Regions from separate parts of the Homo sapiens genome. Here region 2 is linked to region 1. Evidence: promoter capture Hi-C in 16 types of primary human blood cells and fetal thymus (Javierre and others, 2016). All regions are on one chromosome and are shown on one strand. The core of a region is centred on a gene start or on the middle of the fragment in contact, and the rest is flanking DNA. Distances in the headings are between cores, read along the strand shown.

Evidence for each region. The method cuts DNA at HindIII sites, captures the fragments that hold promoters and counts their contacts. A CHiCAGO score of 5 or more calls a contact.
Region 2: a contact is called between a fragment that was not itself captured here and the fragment with the promoter of EIF3G in region 1, in 3 of 17 cell types (naive B cells, endothelial precursors and total B cells). The highest score is 5.3, in naive B cells.

The regions. Positions count from the first base shown.
Region 1 is chr19:10,118,649-10,125,726 of GRCh38, reverse strand. It overlaps EIF3G (eukaryotic translation initiation factor 3 subunit G), which reads left to right and starts at 5,828. Exons shown (of 11, transcript NM_003755.5): 1 at 5,828-5,887; 2 at 6,027-6,073; 3 at 6,556-6,639; 4 at 6,771-6,859; 5 at 7,000-7,059. The coding sequence starts at 5,868. RefSeq lists enhancers at 5,570-6,325, 6,326-7,078. The HindIII fragment of the contact is 4,736 bases long and covers 3,423-7,078 here.
Region 2 is chr19:9,936,674-9,943,955 of GRCh38, reverse strand. No RefSeq gene overlaps it. Among named protein-coding and RNA genes, the nearest start is that of OLFM2, 3.8 kb to the right of the region's middle. RefSeq lists an enhancer at 6,422-6,924. The HindIII fragment of the contact is 2,986 bases long and covers 2,189-5,174 here.

The DNA.
Region 1 (7,078 bases), core at 4,579-7,078:
TTATTTTTTTTTACAAAGTCTTGGCCGGGTGCGGCGGCTCACACCTATAATCCTAGCACTTTGGGAGGCCAAGACAGGCGAATCACCTGAGTTTGGAGTTCAAGACTAGCCTGGCCAACATGGAGAAACCCCGTCTCTACTAAAAATACAAAATTAGCTGGGCATGGTGGCACATGCCTGTAATTCCAGCTACTAGGGAAGCTGAGGCAGGAGAATCACTTGAACCCGGGAGGTGGAGGTTGCGGTGAGCTAAGATCATGCCACTGCACTCCAGCCTGGGCAACAAGAGCAAAACTCCATCTCAAAAAAAAAAAAGGAGTCTCACTCCATCGCCCAGGCTGGAGTTCAGTGGCGCAGTATTGGTTCATGGCAACCTCTGCCTCCCGGGTTCAAGGGATTGCCATGCCTCAGCCTCCCGAGCAGCTGGGATTACAGATGCCTGCCACCACACCTGGCTAATTTTTGTATTTGTAGTAGACAACAGGGGTTTCGCTATGTTGGCCAGGCTGGTCTCGAACTCCTGACCTCAAGGGATCCGCCCACCTTGGCCTCCCAATGTGCTGGGATTACAGACGTGATCCACTGTGCCCAGCAGAAACAGGACCTTTAGAGAGAAAATTAAACCCAGGTGTGGTGGCTTATGCCTGTAATCCCAGCACGTTGGGAGGCCGTGGCAGGCAAACCACTTGAGATCAGGAGTTTGAGACCAGCCTGGCCAACTTGGTGAAACCCCGTCTCTACTAGAAATACAAAAATACAAAAATTAGCCAGGTGTGGTGGCACATGCCTGTAGACCCAGCTACTCGGGAGGCTGAGGCAGGAGAATCACTGGAACCCAGGAGGTGGAGGTTGCCATTAGCTGAGATTGCACCACTGCACTCCAGCCTGGACTACAGAGTGAGACTTCACCTTTAAAAAAAATAATTAAAAAAAAAAAGTTTAAATGAGGTCATTAGGGTGGGCCCTAATCCAATATGACTGATGTCCTTAGAAGAAGAGATTGGGACATAGACACACACAGAGGAGGCCACGTGAGGACCGAGGGAGAAGGTGCCCCCACCTCAGAAGAAACCAACCCTGCCGACACTGTGATCTTGGACTTCCAGCCTCCAGAACTGAGAAAATAAATGTGTGCTGTTTAAGCCTCCTAGTCTGTGATATTTTGTTGTGAAAATGTGAGAAAAAGTAACTAATGTTAAGCTGGGTTTGCTCAATTCTGCTTTCCAGCGTAATTTCACAAAGCCCCTGACTCTGAGACACGTGAGACACGTCTGCGCAGCTCTACAGAACAAGGCTTTGAAGACAAAACAGGACAGAGCACAGGGCACACCATGTCCCTTGCCCGAGTCACTATATTCCTTAAATGAGTCTGGGCACGGTGGTTCATGCCTGTGATCCCAGCATTTTGGGAGACCAGGGCAAGGGCATCACCTTAGCCTGGGGAGGTTGAGGCTGCAGTGAGCTGTGATCGTGCCACTGCACTCCAGCCTGGGTGACAGAGAAAGACCCTGTCTCAAAAAAAAAAAAAAAAAAAAAAAGGCGTGCCAGGTGCGGTGGCTCATGCCTGTAATCCCAGCACTTTGGGAGGCCCAGGCAGGCGGATCACCTGAGGTCGGGAGTTCGAGACTACCCTGACCAATATGGAGAAACCCCCGTCTCTACTAAAAATACAAAATTAGCCGGGTGTGGTGGTGTGCATGCCTGTAATCCCAGCTACTCAGGAGGCTGAGGCGGGAGAACCGCTTGAACCCAGGAGGCGGAGGTTGCAGTGAGCTGAGATCGCACCACTGCACTCCAGCCTGGGCAATAGAGCAAGACTCCGTCCCCCAAAAAAAAAAGAAAAAAGAAAAAAAGGACCTGGGCCGGGCACGGGTGGGTCACACCTGTAATCCCAGCACTTTGGGAGGCCAAGGTGGGCGGATCACAAGGTCGGGAGATCAAGACCATCCTGGCTAACACGGTGAAACCCCATCTCGACTAAACATACAAAAATTAGCTGGGCGTGGTGGCGGGTGCCTGTAGTCCCAGCTACTCAGGAGGCTGAGGCAGGAGAATGGCGTGAACCCAGGAGGCGGAGCTTGCAGTGAGCCGAGATTGTGCCACTGCCCTCCAGCCTGGGCAACAGAGTGAGACTCCATCTCAAAAAAAAAAAAAAAAAAAAGGACCTGGTTCAAACCTTTTCCTACACATAAAATAACATCTAATGGGGTCAGGGTATTATGCTTCTGTAATCTATAACCAGATGTACTCTTGCACCCAAACCTTGATGTGGCTCACACCTGTGTAATCCCAGCACTTGGCTCATGGCAGCCTCACCTCCTGGGCTCCAGCGATTCTCCTGCCTCAGCCTCCTGAGTAGCTGGGATTACAGACATGCACCAACATGCTCAGGTAATTTTTGTATTTTTAATAGAGATGGGTTTTCACCACGTTTTCCAGGCTGGTCTTGATCTCCTGACCTCAGGTCATCTGCCTGCCTTGGCCTCCCAAAGTGCTGGGATTACAGACGTGAGCCACTGTGCTCAGCCTCTTTCTTTTTTAGAGACAGGGTTTTTGCTCTGTCACCCAGGCCAGAGTGTAATGGCACAATCATAGCTCACTGCAGCCTTGACCTCCTGGGCTCAAGCAATCCTCCTACCTCAGCCTCCCAGGTAGCTGGGACTACAGGCGTGCATTACCACACCCAGCAATTTTTTGTGTGTAGTGATGGGGTCTCAATGATGTTGCCTAGTCTGGTCTTGAACTCCTGGGCTCAAGAAATCTTTCTGCCTTGGCCTCCAAAACTGCTGGGATTATAGGCACGAACCACAGTGCCCAGCCAAGAAATATATTTATATGTTACATCTCACATATATTACATAAATGCATATTATATATTAATACATGTCCAAAAATAATATTTCCTTTCTTGGTGCCTTCTTTCCAAAGCATTCCTCATTAACAGGTTCTGATTCTTTCTTTCCAGGAAATGATTTGCATATATCTGCATATCTATGTGCTGTTGAAGATTTACACAAATTGGTTCCTGTAATATATGCCATTTTATATATCGCTTCCTCTTTTTTTTTTTTTTTTTTTTGAGATGGAGTCTTGCTCTGTCGCCCAGGCTGGAGTGCAATGGCGATTCTCCTGCCTCAGCCTCCCAAGTAGCTGGGATTACAGGCACCCACCACCATGGCCAGATTTTTTTTTTTTTTTTTTTGTATTTTTAGTAGAGACGGCATCTCACCATGTTGGCCAGGGGCTGGTCTTGAACTCCTAACCTCAGGTGATCCACCCACCTCGGCCTCCCGATTACAGGTGCCCAGCCTGTTTCCCTATAACATCTTTACTACCACGGGGTGATATCGAATTTTTGAAGCTTTGCCCAATCTGCTGGGTTGTTTGGATTTTGTGTTGCTCAGAGTACATTTGAGTAAGCTTGTAAAAATGTTTATCAGTCCTTTGGACCAGCTTCATATTTTCACCAATATAGCCAGGCCACCCTCCTGAAAGGCCACAGCGGCGTGCCTCTCTTTCCTGCTCTCCAGCTAATGTTTTCCCTTCCACTTGGCTCTCTACAGGCTTCTAGAATAATTTTTTCCACAAGAAAAGTTGGTGATATTCCAAACACTTGAGTGGCCTCCTCACTCACAACTCAGAGGATAAAAAAGCATAAACTTTTTTTTCCTGTCTTCTTATTTATTTTTCTCAGGGCATTCTCCCTTACAAGTTATTTTTTGTTTTGTTGCGTGTGTGTGTGTGCGTGTGTGTGTTTTTGAGACAGGGTCTCTCTCTGTTACCCAGGCTGAAGTACAGTCGCATGATCATGGCTCAACCTCCTGGGCTGAAGCTGTTCTCCCACCTCAGCCTCCTGAGTATCTGGGACTACAGGCACACAGAACTATGCCCAGCTGATTAAAAAAAAAAAATTTTTTTAAGGGCCGGGCGCAGTGGCTCACACCTGTAATCCCAGCACCTTGGGAGGCCGAGGTGGGCCCCCGTCTCTACTAAACCGTCTACTAAAAACACAAAAATTAGCACGGCGTGGTGGTGGTCATCTGTAATCCCAGCTACTCGGGAGGCTGAGGCAGGAGAATCACTAGAACCCGGAAGGCAGAGGTTGCAGTGAGCCGCGATTGCGCCGCTGCACTCCAGCCTGGGCGACAGAGTGAGACTCCATCTCAAAAAAAAAAAAAAAAGTTGTTTTTTAGAGATGGGGGGTCTCACTATGTGTTGCCCAGGCTGGTCGAATTCCAGGGCTGAAGTGATCCTTCTGCCTCAGTCTCCCAAAGTTCTGGGATTACAGGCGCGGGCCACCACACCCAGCTAATTTTTGTATTTTTAGTAAAGACGGGGTTTCGCCATATTGCCCAGGCTGGTCTCGAACTCCTGACTTCAAGAGATCTGCCCATCTTGGCCTCTCAAAGTGCTGGGATTACAGGCGTGAGCCACTGCGTCCGACATTGTCAAACGTTTTTTGTTCATTATCACCCTTCTTAGGAGAAAACCCGAATTATCCTAAAATTGAATTTACATCAACTAAATTAATTTCAATTTAATTACATTTAATATCTCCCTAAAGGCAGAAACTAAATACTTAGGGATAAATGCTGTCTGATAGAGCTGGCTTTGGAAGACCACAATATCTAAGATTTTTTTCCTCCCTGAGGACCAGTTTTTTCCCCTGGGGAGTCATCATGAATCACTTCGACTGAGGACGGTTGTGCTTAGAGCAAGGAGCTGAGCAATAAACAAGTAAATGCACAAAATTATACCGGAAAGCCAAGAATGCTACAAAGAAAAGAAGAGGGAGTGGCTGAGGGGAGGCCACTTGGCATCTGAATCATTGGGATCGGGAAAGAAGACAAGGAACAGTTTAAGCAAAAGGATTGTTTTCCCCGAACTTTGGTTTCTTTTTTCTTTCTTTTTCTTTTTTTCTTTTTTAGAGACAGGGGTCTCACTATGTTGCCCAGGCTTGTCTCAAACTCCTGGCCTCAAGCCATCCCCACGCCTTGGTCTCCCAAAGTGCGGGATTACAGGCAGGCGCCACTGCACCCAGTCTGAGCCTCAGTTTCTTCAGCTGTAAAATGGAAGTAATATCCTCCTCACCATGCTTCATATACAATAAGCACTCAATAAGTGAGCTTTATGATTATTATTATTTATTTTAATTTTACTTATTTTTCTGAGACGGAGTCTCACTCTGCAGCCCCAGGCTGGAGTGCAGTGGTGCGATCTCGGCTCACTGCAGCCTCCGCCTCCTGGGTTCAAGCGATTCTCCCGCCTCAGCCTCCCGAGTAGCTGGGATTACAGGTGCCCACCACCACGCCTGGCTAATTTTTTTTTTTTTTTTTTTTTTGAGACGGTGTCTCGCTCTGTCGCCAGGCTGGAGTGCAGTGGCGCGATCTCGGCTCACTGCAACCTCCGCCTCCCGGGTTCAAGCGATTCTCCTGCCTCAGCCTCCCGAGTAGCTGGAACTGCAGGCACGCACTACCACGCCCAGTTAATTTTTGTGTTTTTAGTAGTGACGGGGTTTCGCCACGTTGGCCAAGCTGGTCTCGAACTCCTTACCTCAGGTGATCCGCCCGCCTCGACCTCCCAAAGTGCGAGGATTACAGGCTTGAGCCACCTCGCCTGGCCTATTTTAATTTTAAAGGTTAATAGGACCAGCCCTGAAATCAGCCTCTGCCCCCGCTGGCCCTACTCTGGTACCAGCAGCGCCCAGTAGCATACACAGCCGCGTGCGCCTCCACCTCCGTCCGCAGGTGTCGCTGTGGGTGCCGCGGCTGGGCCCCTCTAGGCGGCGACGGCGGCACCGGAAGTCTCGTTTTCGCCCGCTTCCGCTCTCTGGCCGGGCTTGGGCTGCGTGGAGAATACTTTTTGCGATGCCTACTGGAGACTTTGAGTGAGTCGGCGATCGCGGAAAGGGGCACGGGAAGCGGTTGGGGTGCTCTGGGAAGTATTATGGGGCCTGGGTACGCCGAGGCTGCGGGAGCCGGGCCTGGCTGACTTAATCTTCGTTCCCCACACATTTGTTTCCGCAGTTCGAAGCCCAGTTGGGCCGACCAGGTGGAGGAGGAGGGGGAGGACGGTAAGTGTACACGGTCGCCCGGGGTATTCGCGGCCAGGCCCAAGCCGTGTGACTGCCGCCTGCTTCCATCTCCCAGTCTGGCACCGTGTACCCCGTCACGGTCTGCCCCTGCCCCGCGCCATCCTCCTTGGGACCCGCCTGTTGCCAACTCCAGGTGTTCCCCGGCGGGTCCCTCTTCCTCCCATGCCACTGCCTCCCAGCTGTTCCCCTCCAGGGAGGAAGTTGTAATCTCCCGTCTCCTGTTTCTCTACTGGCGCCTGGTTGGCTTCATGGCCTGGCACCCACCTTCCTACGAGGGATCTCCCATCCTTGCCACTCCGAGTCCCCACAGGGCCATCCCAGTGCGTTGCCTGGCCAGCCCTCTGCCCTTGGCCTGCCTTTCTCCGCTTTTGCTGTAGGCGTCATCCCAAAAGCCCTTCCATCGCAGCTGGGGAGCTCCTGCCCCTGGAGCTGACTCCTCCTTCCTACGCTGCCTTTTGCAGACAAATGTGTCACCAGCGAGCTCCTCAAGGGGATCCCTCTGGCCACAGGTGACACCAGCCCAGAGCCAGAGCTACTGCCGGGAGGTGAGTGAGGACTGCCGGGAGGTGAGTGAGGACTGCCACTCGGTGTCCGGGCTGCCTCTCCCTCCAGCCCTGCCGCTCCTGATCCCCATGACCCAGGGCTCAGTCTTTCTCTGTTTTTCCCCTTCTGCCAGCTCCACTGCCGCCTCCCAAGGAGGTCATCAACGGAAACATAAAGACAGTGACAGAGTACAAGATAGATGAGGATGGCAAGAAGTTCAAGGTGAGGGTGGGGGGTGCAGGGAGTGGGGACCCTTGTGCTTGGGGGCCCATAGACCGGAATGGGGTGGGGTGTGTTGAGGAGGTTGATAAAGGAGATCCCTTGGTCCCAGGAGCCTGACCCTTCTCCCCTCCCATCCTCAGATTGTCCGCACCTTCAGGATTGAGACCCGGAAGGCTTCAAAGGCTGTCGCAAGGAGGAAGGTGAGGCTCTTCTTCCCCA
Region 2 (7,282 bases), core at 2,432-4,931, 180 kb after region 1:
TGACCTCGGGCAAATTACTTAACCTCTCTGAGCCTCAAAGTTTTCATTTATTTATTTATTAGAGACAGGGTCTCGCTCTGTCACCCAGGCTGGAGGGCAGTGGTGCAATTGCAGCTCACTGCAGCCTCGACCTCCTGGGCTCAAACGATCTTCCCTCCTCAGCCTTCCAAGTAGCTAGTACTACAGGCGCAAGCCACCATGCCTAGCTACTTTTTGTATTTGTTGTAGAGATGGGGTTTTGCCATGTTGCCAGGCTGGTCTCAAACTCCTGGGCTCAAGTGATCTGCAGTCCTCTGCCTCCCAAAGTGCTGGGATTATAGGTATGAGCTGCTGCACCTGGCCTGCATTTTTAAATGGGGGATAACAGTGCCTACCCTACAGGGTTGTTGTAAGAACTCAAGGAATTAATGTATGGAGAGGATGTATCCCAGTGGTGGGTGCTTCACTGGAGCTCAGTGAGTCAGGAAGGTTCCTGTTAAAGAGATGTTTCCAGCATGGTCCAGGAGGGAGTACTGAGTAGGTAGGTCATGAATAGCTTGGAGTATTGGGGCTTCGTGAATTATGAGGTTCTCTTCAGACAGATAAAGGGAATGAATCTTCCAAGCACATATCAATCACGGTTTAGTTGCAGGAAATGAGAACCAAAACCAGGGAACTTGGTGCTTACAGAACCAAGGCTGGAGAATAGGGATCTAGGGAAAGCCGATAGAATGACTTGCTACAAAACACCACCTCCCGGCTGGGAGCAATGGCTCACCCCTGTAATCCTATCCCTTTGGGAGGCCAAGGAAGGCACATCACTTGAGGTCAGGAGTTCAAGACCAGCCTGGCCAACATAGTGAAACCCTGTCTCTACTAAAAATACAAAAAACTAGCTGGGCGTGATGGCATGTGCCTGTAATCCCAGTTACTCTGGAGGCTGAAGCAGGAGAATTGCTTGAATCCAGGAGGTGGAGGTTGCAGTGAGCTGAGATTGTACCACTGCACTCCAGCCTGGGCAACAGAGCGAGGCTCCATCTCAAAACAAAAACAAAAACAAAACAAAAACCATCACCTCCCAACTCACCCAAGCAGGAGCTTCTGCCTCTATTATTAGCAGGGAGGTGGAGAATTATCCCCTAGAGTGGGGATTTTTGACTTTAAGACTACATCACCATAATTAATGAACAAAATATGGGATATCCACACAATGGAATATTATTGAACCATAAAAAGGAACAGCATGGCTGGGCGTGGTGACTCACGCCTGTAATCCTAGCACTTTGGGAGGCCAATGCGGGTGGATCCCTTGAGCCCAGGAGTTTGAGACAAGCCTAGGCAAATGGAGAGACTCCATCTCTACAGAAAATACAGAAAATTAGCAAGGTGTGGTGGCATGCAACTGCAGTCCCATTTACTGGGATGGACTGAGGTGGAAGGATTGCTTGAGTCTGGGAGGTGGAGGTTGCAGTGAGCCAAGATCCCATCACTTCACTCCAGCCTGGGTGACACAGCGAGACTCTATCTCAAAAACAACAACAACAACAACAGCAACAGGAACAACAAAACAATGAAAACACCAGGAAAGTTGCAATTCAGAGATACGGAGGCAGTCATCATTGTTACTGCAATGGACTCTCAACAAAAACGGGTTGTTCTCACAATTGGAAACAGGAACATTCCTGCAGGAAAATCCAGTGTCTCCCAATTGTGCTTAGCAGCTGCCTCTACCAGCATAACAGGAAGATTAATTCCACCTTCTTCCACCACCCACTTCTCATGCTTCTAATGGATGAAACCTAATTGGCCTACAGAAGTTTAGCTGCAAGGGAGTCTGGAAGTATTTTCGCTTTGCAGGCTCTATAATAAGGAATGCATACTAGGGGGTTGAAATGATGCCAAGAACCACCCCCTGCCCAAAACCATATATTTTGGTTTTGCTTGTACAGTGTCCTTTCTCTCTTTTAGTGGTCAACATTCTATATCCTTCTCTACCTCCCACTTCCTATCCAATGTAGGTTGAATAAGGCTAACTGCACTCTCTGGCTCCGTGGGGGTGATCTATGAGCCAGACCTAGCCAAGCCAAATAATGAATTCCTCTGAATACATAATTGGTTCAGGATGGGCACACAACTTGGGATGCATAATGAGACATTATTTTGCAAGCTCTCTTTTTGCTGATGCTGCTGAGCTTGGAAGAGAGAAGCTTCTGGAAACCATCTTTGTCATCTCTTGGCTAAAAGTGAATCCTTCCCAAAAGACAGCATGGAATGAGAAATGAGAGATGAGAAATGAGAGATGAGGAATGGAGAGAGACAGAATCCTGATGATATAACAGAAACCCTGGATCCAGCCATGACTGAATTCCACTACCCTCATTTTTGTTTAAGTTATATGAGCCAATAGATTTTTTTTCTTAATCCAGTTCAAGTTGAGTTTCTGCTAAATTCTACCAAAGGACCTCTAAATAATATATTCAGGGATTAGCAAGAGCAAAGGTATGTGTTGGCAGGCATTCACTTCATGATCATTTTCTCTATGAAGTGGGTGGTGCAGGGTGTGAGGAAACAGATGTGGGCTGTGAGAGGGTGACAGGAACCCATGGCTGTCCAAGTTCCTGTCTAATTGGCTGTCCAAGTGCCAATTAGAAAAACCCAATGGCCAGATGGCAAGATCCAACGCCCTGCCTCCCTGCTTCCTGTCATGGAGAATGACCTGTGCCCAGTGCCAGACCCTGAGTCCCCAGTTCATCCATTTTGCCACAATAGATCCTTGAGAAGCGGATCCTGATGTCTCTTCAATGATGGCCCACAATTCTGACCACTGCACCATAGACAGTGCACTCTTCTTAACATTAACCACAGTGCTGACCTTGAAGCTGATATCAGTGCAACTAGGATGCTGAGTGTGACTTTGACCTTAGTATGACTCAATCATAATTTTGACCATAGCTTGGCCAGGTCATTATCCACAGCAAGCTCAGGACAAGGACCATAGCACTAGGACAGAGCACAGCATAACCAGGAAACTGACTGTAGTACTAATCACCACACTGACCACAACACAACCAAGAATGACCAGGAGTGACCACAATTCTGACCACAATGCTGACCCTGGCAGAACCAGGATGTTGACGGCAGCACAGATCCCGGTTCAACAGGACACAAACCACAATGCCATCAGGACACCCAGAGGGCCACTAACCATACCAGTCAACGACCAACGGCATCGAATGCATTGACTAAGGTCCAGTCAGAAAAACAGCCCATCCCAGCAAATTCAATAGAAAGAATTTAATATGGGGACTTTAATTAGCCACACACTGAGGTATTAGGTAGGTAGGTTTGTTTGTTTGTTTGCTTTTGTGGGGTTTTTTGAGACAGGGTCTCACTCTGTTGCCCAGGCTGGAGTGCAGTGGAGTAATCATAGCTCACTGCAGTCTCGACCTTCTCAGGCTCAGATGATCGTCCCACCTCAGCCTCCTGAGTAGCTGAGACTACAGGTGTGCACCACCATGCCTGGCTCATTTTTGTATTTTTGGTAGAGATGCAGCATCTCTACAGAGATGTTGGCCAGGCTGGTCTTGAACTCCTTGGCTCAAACAATCCACCTGCCTCAGCCTCCCAAAGTGTTGGGATTAGAAGTGTTAGCCATGGCACTCAGCCGATAGGTAGGTTTTGTTTTTGTTTTTTTCTTTTTTGAGACAGAGTTTCACTATTGTTGCCCAGGCTGGAGTGCAATGGCATGATCTCAGCTCACTGCAATCTCTACCTCCTGGGTTCAAGCGATTCTTCTGCCTCAGCCTCCTCAGTAGCTGGCATTACAGACACCTGCTACCATGCCTGGCTAATTTTTTGTATTTTTAGTAGAGACAGCATTTTGCCTTGTTGGGCAGGCTGGTCTCAAACACCTGACCTCAGGTGATCCACCCACTTCAGCCTCCCAAAGTGCTGGGATTACAGGTATGAGCCACCGCACCTGGCCCTATTAGGTTGGTTTTAAGCGCAAACTGGAGCAGGTGAATCAACTCTAGTTGCTAGCTATCATCTTTGCAAGGACTGAAACAACAAAGGGAGGTGGTAGTTACCTGAATCCAGGAGCTGCAGTTACCTGGCCAGTCACCTGCCCCCACCCCCCACCATGGTGGGGAATACCTAATGGGACTGAGACCACAGAGGAGGCACAGCAGCCATGGCTAGAGACACTCAAAGTGGAGGGGGGGAAATTCTCTGGCTTCTCCTTTCTTGGCACCCTCCAATCTGCCTGTAGACCTCCCATTGGCTGAGCCTAACCAGATGCAAAGAAGCCTGGGAAATGTAGTGTGTAGAGAACCTGAGAAAGATAATTTGCAGGAGCCATTGCCCTGATACAGAGGGGAGCAGGGGGAAAGTGGGGAATAGATCTAAGTGCATATCGACCAAATTCCAACCATATAACACAGGCTGTAGCTTAGTTGTAACTGTGATCGTCTTAGTGACCAGAGCCCAAGGAGGACACTGTTCATGGTCCTGAAATGCAGCATTCATGAGTCAAGAGTGCTGACTCTTGACCGTGAGACCCACTCTTGGTCAAGAGCTTGTGGGTCCTACCAACCAATGTCCTCCTTTTATGCAATGCCAACTGCAGGCTTGGCCTGAAGGGCCCACAAAGGACTGTCTCCCATTTGGGAAAAGGAGATAGAAGAATAGGATGGGTGCGGTGGCTCATGCCTGTAATCCCAGCACTTTGGGAGGCTGAGGCAGGTGGATCACCTGAGGTCAAGAGTTCATGACCAGCCTGGCCAATATGGTGAAACCCCATCTCTACTAAAAATATGAAAAATTAGACAGGCCTGGTGGCAGGCACCTGCAATCCCAGCTACTTGGAAGGCCGAGGCGGGAGAATTCCTTGAACCCGGAAGGCAGAGGTTGTAAGCCGAGATCAAGCCACTGCACTCCAGCCTGGGTGTGACAGTGTGAGACTCCATCTCAAAAAAAAAAAAAAAAAAAAGAGATAGAAGAATAAACAGGATGTCTTCGCAGGCTCAGACTCTATTTTGTGTCCACATCCCATGATGAGTGTCCTCAACCCAGTGCATGGTTGGTTATTGCAAGGCGTGCTGGGGAGTGAGTGCTAGCTAGGTGCTCTCTTTGCTTAGAGTCACAGATGTCTCCCAATAACTGCAAAAAACAGGTCTTCTAAGAGGGGGAAAGCTTTTTCCCTAAGGTCACATGGCCAAGAAGTGGCAGCACCAGGGTTGAACCCAGATCTGTGGGTCACCAAGCTCTTTCTCATTGACCTGACAAAACCATCATCGACATGTTTTATCCCCAGTAGGGTTGAGACAGGAATGATCCAGGGTGGTCACAGGCAGCCGTTTCACATGACTAGAGGCTATGGGCTGATAAGATCCTGAAAACCAGGGTGTGGACCAAGCTGGCTAAGACCTACTGGACCCAACATGGCGTTACATTCTACCTAGGTTTCACCTAGGATCTCATTATGTACTCATTAAAATACTAAAATTACCCACCCACCAGCGCCCTTGACAATTCCAGGGACACCCAAATTTGGTGTAAAAGTGGGTGGCACCACAGTCCACCTTTTTCCAGTTTTCATGAATATTCCATCCCTTGGTTAAAGAGATACACAGTGGCCTGTTGTGGTGGCTCACGCCTGTAATCTCAGCACTTTGGGAGGCCAAGGCGGGTGGATCACGAGGTCAGGAGTTTGAGACCAGGCTGGCCAATATGGTGAAACCCTGTCTCTACTAAAAACACAAAAAATTAGCCGGCTGTGATGGCGCACACCTGTAATCCCAGCTACTCAGGAGGCTGAGGCAGGAGAATTGCTTGAACCTGGGAGGCAGAGGTTGCAGTGAGCCGAGATCACACCACTGCACTCCAGCCTGGGTGACAGAGCGAGACTTTGTCTCAAAAAAAAAAAAAAAAAAAAAAAAAAAGAGACACATAAAGGTAGCAGTCCCAAACCACCTTGCCCATCTCTCTCTCTTAAGTACGCCCACTCCCTTTTCTCAAGTGTGGACTTTTCCCTTAACAAAAAAATCTCCGAACTTTTCATGATTTTCTGATTCCTCCTTGAATTCATTCTTGCGATGGTGTTAAGAGCCTGGACACCAGCTGGGGTCGAGGCCCCACCAGCGTCTGGGGAGACCCCTCCTAGCCCAACAGTATCAGGGTCACAAAAATGCCAGGCTTCCTGGCCTCGCATATTTTATGCCCGATTTCTTTCCAATCTGACTTATTTGCCCGCCCCCCTCCTCCACCTCTGCCTACATATATCCGAATCCCTAGAGGGGCTGTGGGGAGGAAAGACGACTAGGGACACTTTTTTTTTTTTTTTTTTTTTGAGACAAGGTTTGCTCCTGTTGCCCAGGCTGGAGTGCAATGGCACGATCTCTGCTCACTGCAACCTCTGCCTCCCGGGTTCAAGCGATTCTCCTGTCTCAGCCTCCCGAGTAGCTGGGATTCCAGGCATGCACCACCACGCCCGGCTAATTTTTGTATGTTTTAGTAGAGGTGGGGTTTTGCCATGTTGGCCAGGCTGGTCTTGAACTCCTGACCTCAGATGATCCACCCTCCTCAGCCTCCCAAATTGCTGGAATTACAGGCGTGAGCCACCGCGCCCGGCCTAGGGAGACTTTTGGAGGAGTGAGAGGCAGAGAAAGGCTGGAAAGCCTCCCGAAAGTGAGGCTAGACAAGGACGCCCTTCATATGCAAATGGCTTCGCGTGGAGGCGGTGTTAATATTTTGATTCTCTCGGGGGATGTGGTCTTTCATCTTGGGCTATTGAAACAGGGAGCGAAGAGAAACTCTTCCAGGTGTGGCGGAGGCGGGGAGGCTTCCAGCGGGAGGACTGGTGGGGAAATGGGGCGCCCGGGGAGAGTGAAAACGAGACGCCCCTTTTTGAGGCCAAGCCCACCCACGTGGCCATTTCCATTGGCCTCTTGCCTGATTCTCGGTCTCCTGTCCCCCCAACCTCAATTTTTTCCTCTTATTCCCCGTCTCCATCTATGCCTCACCCCTCTTGTCCTGGCATTGACCCCTCCTCCAACTTCCAATTTCAGATTCTGCCTCAGTTTCCCTGTTGACTCTTGAGTTTTTAGGGAGGGGGCGTTCATCATTTCCCCTCTCTGCTACCAGGCCTTCCTCCTATTCCTCTCCCCCAACCATTCGTCCCCGTCCCACCTGCAACGTGGGAAATGCCCCCGGAGGGTGAAATTTACAAACACGTGACGGGCACCCCTCCCCCACCTCCGCGACCCGCTCCCGGAATGGCCTGGGGGTTGGGGGGCGCTGCCAA